3 separate regions of the Homo sapiens genome follow, and regions 1 and 2 are each linked to region 3. Evidence: promoter capture Hi-C in human tissues and cell types (Jung and others, 2019). All regions are on one chromosome and are shown on one strand. The core of a region is centred on a gene start or on the middle of the fragment in contact, and the rest is flanking DNA. Distances in the headings are between cores, read along the strand shown. Region 1 overlaps LMAN2 (lectin, mannose binding 2). Region 2 overlaps UIMC1 (ubiquitin interaction motif containing 1). Region 3 holds the start of NSD1 (nuclear receptor binding SET domain protein 1).

The links. The method cuts DNA at HindIII sites, captures the fragments that hold promoters and counts their contacts. A contact is called where the count stands out against the background at its distance.
Region 1: a contact is called between a fragment that was not itself captured here and the fragment with the promoter of NSD1 in region 3, in 1 of the 25 tissues and cell types used here (spleen).
Region 2: a contact is called between a fragment that was not itself captured here and the fragment with the promoter of NSD1 in region 3, in 3 of the 25 tissues and cell types used here (lymphoblastoid cells, mesendoderm cells and thymus).

The regions. Positions count from the first base shown.
Region 1 is chr5:177,332,251-177,334,950 of GRCh38, reverse strand. It overlaps LMAN2 (lectin, mannose binding 2), which reads left to right. Exons shown (of 8, transcript NM_006816.3): 7 at 548-667. Among named protein-coding and RNA genes, the nearest start is that of LMAN2, 18 kb to the left of the region's middle. The HindIII fragment of the contact is 8,340 bases long and covers 1-2,700 here.
Region 2 is chr5:176,955,221-176,957,920 of GRCh38, reverse strand. It overlaps UIMC1 (ubiquitin interaction motif containing 1), which reads left to right. Exons shown (of 15, transcript NM_001199298.2): 8 at 1,886-1,962. Among named protein-coding and RNA genes, the nearest start is that of UIMC1, 50 kb to the left of the region's middle. The HindIII fragment of the contact is 7,008 bases long and covers 1-2,700 here.
Region 3 is chr5:177,132,487-177,135,186 of GRCh38, reverse strand. NSD1 (nuclear receptor binding SET domain protein 1) reads right to left here and starts at 1,414. Exons shown (of 23, transcript NM_022455.5): 1 at 1,235-1,414; 2 at 1-100. The coding sequence starts at 83. RefSeq lists enhancers at 212-765, 766-1,317, 1,318-1,871, 2,085-2,379, 1,872-2,423 and silencers at 779-1,078, 1,139-1,298, 1,379-2,048. The HindIII fragment of the contact is 15,853 bases long and covers 1-2,700 here.

The DNA of each region.
Region 1 (2,700 bases), core at 1-2,500, 200 kb before region 3:
TGCGTTAGGCTCAGGCCCTTAGCTGGTTGCCGAGTTGTTCCCCTGCAGCCTGTATGTGGGTCTCTGTGGCAAGAATGTCTGGTGGCTCCTGCCCTTGGGACCTCAGCCTTCTCAGCCAGTCACACAGCGACTGTTGGTCTTTCCCGGGTCTGTTTTTGAGCACTTATTCTGCAGGCAGGCCATCTTCTGTGTGGTGTAGACCCTTCTCATGTACTTGCCATGGCAACCACACAGATGGAGATCATCACTCCTCTACATGTGCGGAACATGAGCCTCAAAGAGGGCGGCAGACCCCAGGATTTAGACCCAGATGATTCTGCTTGTAAAGCCCTTACTGTTTTCTCTCCACTCTGCCTCCTCTCTTTTTTATTGCTGGTGACTGGAGGGAGCTGGGAAGAAAACAGGCCCTAGCCGGCTGGGCAGTGCTCTCCCCAGGGGCCTGGCAGGTTTACTGGCTGCAGCAGCAGCTTTCCTTGTGGGAGGGTCTTGGGCCACGTGCCCTGCGGCTGGCCTGTAGGCTGTCACAGGTTTATTCTTGGTCCTGCAGACAATCATGACATCATCTCCATGAAGCTGTTCCAGCTGATGGTGGAGCACACGCCCGACGAGGAGAGCATCGACTGGACCAAGATCGAGCCCAGCGTCAACTTCCTCAAGTCGCCCAAAGGTGCGTGTGCACAGCCCCGCCCTGCCTGGGCCTGGGCGGCCTGACCCAGAATGGGGTGAAGCCAGCCTGGCGGGTCTTGTGGTCCAGTCGTGGTTGTGGTGGTTGTGGTCTGGGCTCTTGGATCAGCCCGGTCCTGGCAAGCGGCACTGGCTGGCCCTGTCCGAGCTCCTAGAGTATTGGGCTTGGATCGTGTCAGCTCTGGCAAGTTTTTGAGTAAATGAATGAGGCGGAAGAGAAGTCTGCAGAGAGTCAGTCCCTGAGGACATCCTAGTCACGTGAGTGCTGTGGCAGCAAGCAGTGGCTGATCAACAAACGTGTGAGTGGTGGGCCAGCATCCTCCCTCACTAGGTGCTGGGGCAGTGGCCAGCAGAGCCAGGGGGCTGGGTATGTTGGCCCACCTGTCCCTTCTGTGAGCCACCTGGAAGAAGTCGTGCTGCTGGTCAAGGGGGTGGATTCCTTAGCTAGAAGGAGAGAGAGAGCAAGATTGGAAATTGGGTTTCTACAAAACCCGAAGCCTGGGTTCTTCCCATGGCACTAATTAGCTACCCCTTTCCTCACAGAGTGAACGTTGTGGTTGGAGGAATGAGGCATCTGTGTGTGGAGAAGTCCACCCTAAGAGCCACAGATGTGTGCCTGGGGGTCCAGCCAGTGACAGAAGTGCACGGCGCGGGCTCTGTCGTAGCCCAGCCCTGGGTCCCCATGCCGTGTGGGCCAGTTTGGCCGCGTGTTTCTGCTTTTCAGGAGAAGCCAAGATCCAGTGTTTTATGTGACAGTTCACTTTTTAAAGATTCAGATTATTTTGAAATGTTTTGGGGACCACACAAACCTTGCTGCAACCTTTGGTCAGAAGGCTGCCAGCTGCTGGGTGTTTGCAGAGGTGGCACCTGCCTTGCCCACCCAGCATCCCGTGCAGCTGGCAAGGCAGGATGAACTCGTTTTTAGATTCAATCCATTTGTTCCTTCAGATGTGACCAAAGCTGCCCTCTGTGCCTAGCCATGGGCTGGGTGCTGGAGACACGAGATCAGGCAGGCCCTGCCCCTGGGGCTCATTCTAGGGTCTGCGGCAGACAGGGAGACAGAGGGAGCTGTGAGAGCCCTGAGGCTGAGTGGCTTTCTGGGGAAGCACCATCCCTAGGGACCTCCGCGTTCGGTCAGTGGCCGCTGCTGTCGGTGTGCAGAGCAGAGGCTGGGGCGAGAGTGGTCAGCAGGCCTGCTGGTGGCAGCTTGTGCAGGAAGGGAGGATGGAGGTTGGCTTGTGGCTGGCAAGAGGGTGGCATGCACGTCGCTGAAAGGCAGGGCCTGGGCCCGAGGCCTGGGTGTGGGGACGCCTGAGGAGACTGTACAGTGTGGAGTCGGGGGGGCCGCAGTCAGGGAGGGAGGCAGAGTGGCAGAAACAGGGCCCAGCCAGACCCCAGCTCCTCCACCCACAGCCTGGAGAGCTTGGGAAAGTCAGTGTCTTCTCTCCGCCTGTACAAGGGAGCGTACCAGTGGGCCCCATCCCAGGATGGGCAGGACCTGTGGGAACCTTGTGTGGAGGAGAGAGGCTGTGGGCTGGGGTGGAGTGTGGGACTCAGGTCCTGGGAGACCCTCCTGGGGGGCTGCCGAGAGCATCCAGCTGTGGGCTGGGAGAGCCTGTGACCAGGGCCGCGCTGCTCCAGAAAGGGCCCTCAGACCACAGCGTGGGGGTGGGGCTTGGATATGTAGACTCCTGGGCCTCCCCTTATCCAGAGTTGGACTCAGAGGAGCCCAGGAGTCTGGTTTTAACTGGCTTCCTGCAGCAGAAGGCAGCCCAGGCTTGTCGCTGGGGTCCCGGGTCCCTGTGGGCTTGGTCCTCTCTCTGCCCCACCCTGCCCTGGGGACTGCAGAGCTGGCTGGGATGGGCTTCACCTGACCTCTGCCCCTCCCCGGTGAGGGGGGTGAGTACGACCGGCCTGCCCACCGTGGCCGGCTGTCCTGTTCCATCCCCACTGCCCTCCTGCAGCCCCCTGATCCCCGGCCCGTGCTGCCGTTTCAGCTCCCCCGTTTCTTCTCCC
Region 2 (2,700 bases), core at 153-2,652, 180 kb after region 3:
CATAGAAGCCCAGAATATTAAGAGCTGGAAGAGATCCTAGAGGTCATCTTGTCCAGGCCAGCTATCTTGGCATAAATCTCATTTACATTATTTCTGAAAAGCGGTCACATCCTGCAATTCTCTTAACTAATTACACTAGTTTTCTATGCCAATTTGAAGGCTCTAGACTGATTTCTTTATAGTCCTTCTATTCTTAGCCCCTTTCTCTCTTTTCCCCAACTCTGCTTATGCTTATTTTATCTGTATATCTAAACCTTATACATCTTTTAAATTTACTCTTGAGACTTAACATCCTCTTCAAAGTCTTCATATTATTCAGGCCACACAGGACCTGTGTCACTCTCACTGTCTGTCCTGTGCCACTTTTAATCCGTTTGTGCCTCCTATCTCCTGTAAAGGATGGTATTTGCATTACCTCCTCCATTGTTCTTGCTGATTGATTGATGGGCTTACCTTCTAAGTCTTCTTACTTTAATAATAGATAGCAGTTGATTAATTATAAACTGCACTATTAACTGGATCATGCTTCCAGTTACTTTCCACTTGCCCTTTTTATCTAGTAGTTGAGTTTTGAGACTTTCTCAAGAGCTTAGTTTTGAACTGCATGACTGTTCTCCCATATGAGAGTTGAAGCCCACTTGCCATTTGCTGTAGTCAAGGTGGTGGTCTTTCTTAGGCTTCTGGTTGATAGTACTTGGTATTCCTTCCTGGGCTAAAGAATATGGCTTTGGTTTGATTTTCCTGCTGTTAAGACAGTTTTGGAAGTGGTTTTAACAGAGTATGCCTTTACTCCCTATAGGCCTCTCTGCTTTATTGTGGTGAGCCTTGTGCAGAGCAGATGTAGGTTTTAATAAATGATTATACACTTTGTCACCAGGAGAGAGTTGGAATCGCAGGCAATGTGGTTTGACTTCAAATTGATTAGCCCATTTTATAAATGTCAGAAAATTGTTTTGTGATGGACCCTTTGAATAGAGCACTAATGTTACATGCAGAGTAAACTGTCTGGCTGGGGTTTATAACAAATGCTATGAGATGTTTTATTTAGAGATAAATCACTTGTGGTTTTCTATCAGGATTTAGTTATTTATCATGAGTTCAGTTGTAGCTATTCTGTCTTCTCTGTGGTTCTTGGTTGATGTGAGGATTTTTGTTTTCAAGCATCCTCTTGCATACTTGATCAAACTAATCGTAAAGCCCTGTGAAGCATGAGGGGGCTAGCTCAGATGCTCAGATCAGCCATGTATTCCTATGTCAGGAAGAGATTGCACTCCATGAGCAGTCAGGGAAAACCAGAAGGTTGGATGAAGGAAGCCATTCATAATTAAGTTTTTGTTAGAAAAGAGATTCAATTTATGTGGGCAGATTTTTGCTGTAGGGCAGTTTGGAATTGTTTTTTATTTTTGTTGCATGGAAAGCAACATCTTGAGATAAAGAGGAGATTTAACTGCAAAAGGAGGAGAAAGTGTGTTGTCAGAAGAATCTCTGTGTCTTCTCTTGTCAGTTTACAAATCTCTAGCCTTCAGAAGGCTGAGATGGAGGCTATAAAACACCTTTGACATCCTTATATTGGAGTGGAGTTTTTGCCTTCTCTGATATTCACAGACAGTTCTCACCCTTCAACCTTCCTTTGTGAAAACTCCAAAAGGGAATTTGTTTTCATTCAGTGATTTCACTGGAACTGAAGTTGTAAGCATATTTATTTTCCATATTTCTGGTCTGGAGTTTTCAGTACTGATTCCTTGCTTTCCTATTGTGCTTTTGTGGTATTAGGCAGCAAGTATCTGTGATTACCTGTGGCTTTGTGAGTGACTCACCATTGCTTTTGGCTCTATGTTCTGATTTATTTTACTGGGAATTCATTTGGGATTTGGTTCTCTTTCAGTGTTGCTGCTTTGACCAGTAAGAGAAGCTTAGTCCTTATGCCAGAGAGTTCTGCAGAAGAAATCACTGTTTGTCCTGGTAAGTACCCCACTGTGATTTTACTGAATTTCTGATACCTATTTACCTTTTCATGCCTATTAATTTTCCTCTGACTCTTCAAACCTACTCTCTGGAGGTTTGTATGTAATTGATACGTGTATGTACATGTCTCAACACTCGTATGCGTATACACATATAGGTGTTTTTAATGGCCATTGGCTTTTATTCTCAATCTTTTCTCTCCTTAGGGGTAATTTAGTTTTGAAATTAACATGACTTTTTTTGTCTTCTTGATTGTTTACAGGCCTCATCAGAGATGGCAGCAAAGCATCAGGAATAGCATTTGCTTAACTGTACATTCAGAGCCTTTTGTTATTTAATTTGTTTAAATTATTTTAAATTAAATTGTTTTAAATTATTTTGTCAGCCAGCCTGGAGTGCGGTGGTGCAATCATAGCTCACTGCAGCCTTGAACTTCGGGGCTTAAGTTCTCCCTCCTTGGCCTCCCAAAGTGCTAGGATTACAGATGTGAGCCACTGTGCCTGGACTTCACAGCCTTTTAGTAGTTAGTTTTTATATTGCCATTTGTTGGGGTCTTACTGCATAGGAGGTTCAGAAATTGAGTTTTGTGCATGTTCTGTCATTATTTTTAATCTTAGACCTAAGATGCTTAACCTCGTTAAGTGCTTTAGTTTGCTTTTTGTTAATTGTAAAAATTAAAAGATAGGTACTTTGTTTTAGGTAGAAGAGATGCTCATTCAAAGTTGCACATGGATA
Region 3 (2,700 bases), core at 165-2,664:
TTGTCTTCAGGGGCATCTAAATTCACTGGATTGGAAAAGGGCAGCAGACAATTTCTTCTGGGTAGTTCACAGGTCTGATCCATCCTGGGCCGGCATCAACCTGGAATCCAAAAGCACAGCAATTAATCTGAGTTAATAGGCCATCTGACTCGACTCTTTAAAATGGCAGCCACTTCAAGGCCTAGTGGCCTCTATGCCTTTCTGCTGCACTTCCATGGGCAGAAAAAGTTCCCCCGACTGGAGATGAAAAAATGGCCTCGATGAGCCTCTGAAAACTCCATTTTCCCGAAGCTGGGCCGATCCTGCTACATAGAAACAGCCCGTCTCTTTTTCCTCCTCTGTAGACTGGTGGACACTTGGGATGAACTAAAATTAAAACCCCTCTGCCCGTCAAAATTCCCAATTCTCAAACAGGACTAGTCCTCCCCCTCCCTCGCCAGGGGTCGAGCAGCTGGATCTCTCAAAAGCAAAAGGCTGCGGGGTCCGAGGGGGGCTCCTGGACCCTGCACAAAAAGGTACCCCCCCCTTCCTGGCTCGCTAGGGCGCAGCGGTCACAATAGCGCTGCACCCTGCGCCCAGCCAGCGCCGGAGCCTTTGCAGCGGCGGTGCGCAGGCCGCAGGCGAGCCGGCCGAGGCGGCTGCACCCCAGAGCTCGCCTTCCTGAATGCAGGCCTGCTGGATCCGCAGCTGCAGGGCGAAGAGGCCTGGACCCGGCAGAGGGAGAAACCGAGGCGGCCAGCGAAGCCCAGTCAGGGTAGCAGCAGCTGCTACAGCTCGAAAAACATGGCTGCTGCCGACGCCGCCGCCGCCTGCCCGGGCCGCGCTCCTTCCCGCAGCCGCGGCAGCACCTCCCAGCCGAGCCGATCGCTCTCATCAATATTCAGCAGCAAGCAAAGTTTGCTGCGGGAGGGCAGCCGGCCCCGCGCCCCGCAGCCTGCTACCTGAGGGGAGGCGGAGGCCGAGGTGTTCGCAGGCGGCCGGCGGGGCACGGGCCGCGCCGGGAGGAAGTTCGCGGCAGCCCGGCCAGCTAGGCCTGAGCCCGGCTGGTAGTGATGGAGGAGGGGGAGGGGGAGGAGGCCGGCGGCTGCAGCGCCGCCGGCCACCAACCCCGCATCGCGCCTGGCCCTCCCCCGAGCCCCTCACCTTACGGCCACCACCATCTTCCCCGCCCGGCCACCCTCCTCCCTCCCTTCTCCTCGCGCCTGCCCGCCGCCCACCCCAGCGCACTAGTTACCGTGCCCCGCGCCCCCTCCCGGGCCAGCTGGGGGGAGGGGGTGACCCTCATTACACTGGGGTGCGAGCGGAGCGGTGGGGAGAGAGCGGGGCCGCTCGCCGCACCCCCCTCCCCCCGCGTCTCTCTTCAGGGGAGAAGGCAGCGAGCGCGACCTGCCCCGGCCTATTCCGCCGCCGCCTCCTCCTCCTCACACCCCCACCGCGCGCGCCCCCGCGGCCGCGCGTGCGACCGAGCGCCTCGCGCCGGCCCGCGTGCGGCTGGGCCCCGAGTGCGCGCGCACCCCTTCCCCCACCGAGCGCGCGCGTTCCCTTCTCTCACTCTTCGGGGTTCAGGGCGGGTGAAGTCGGGCTTGTGAGAGCGCCGCCCAATCAGCGGAGCTGCCGCTGCCGCCCCCTCCCCTCCCCCTGCGCGCCCGCTCGCGGCCGGGGCCTACGGGCCGGCCCGGCTGCCCGGGCGGGGCCTGAGGCGGGCTCCCCAGGGGCCTCGCGCGCCTCCTTGGAGTGTCGGGGCCTGCGGGCGTCGTGGGTGGCATTCCGATCCCCTCACCTACCTCGGGGCACGGCGCTGGCCTCGGGCCGCACACGGCTCCCGCACCCTACGCGTCTCGAACCCCAACCCAGGCGGCACCTGGCGCGGCTGAGGCCTGTCCGATCGTCCCGCCAGCCCTGCTCGGGCCCGCGTCAGTCCCGGCCTCCATCTTAGGTTACAGCCCAGGCTCCCCATCCACTGGGCACCTGCCCTCAGCCCGCTGGGTTCGGCCCGAGGCCAAGGCAACCCCCCTCCTGCCGCAGGGCTCACCTGGGGGCTTGGGCTGGGGTCTTCGAGGCCTCAGGCCCCGAGCAGACGCGGCCGCAGGCGAACCCCCTACCCGGCCGCACCCCAAACCCACACCACCACCACCACCACCACCACAGACCAAGCTGAGCAGGAAACAAAATGGAGGCAGCAGCTCGGGTCTGCCTCCCTGAGCCAAGCCTGTGCAGCCCCAGGGCTCCCTCCTGTCTCAGGCTCGACGCCCGCGAGGCAGAGGCTGGATCGTCCCGGGTGCCGCGGGCAGCCGCCCTACAGCAGCGCAGACGGGCCGGGGACTCGGCCCTGCGGTGCCCACAGCCCCTCACCCACCACCCCTTCCCTTCCCCCTCCCCCCATCCCTCTCCCTCCCCTTGCCGGGCCGTGCGGGGTGAGCGGCTCTGGGGAGCCGGGTCGGGTTACCCGCCCCGGCACTGCTCGCCCGGCCGTGGCCTCCGCGGGGGAACGAAGCCAGGCGACCCCAGCGCTGAGCCCACCCCCGGCACCGAGCCGGGCTGCAGCCTGACAGCGCGTCCGCACCTCGGCCTGCAGCCGTGCGGCCCCCGCCCAGGGAGGCCGAGTCCCCAGCCCGGGCCCAGCCGGGACGAAGCTCCCTCACCACCCCCGAGCCCAGGGGTCCTCGCAGCCTCGGGCGGGGCGAGGGGAACGCCGGGGGA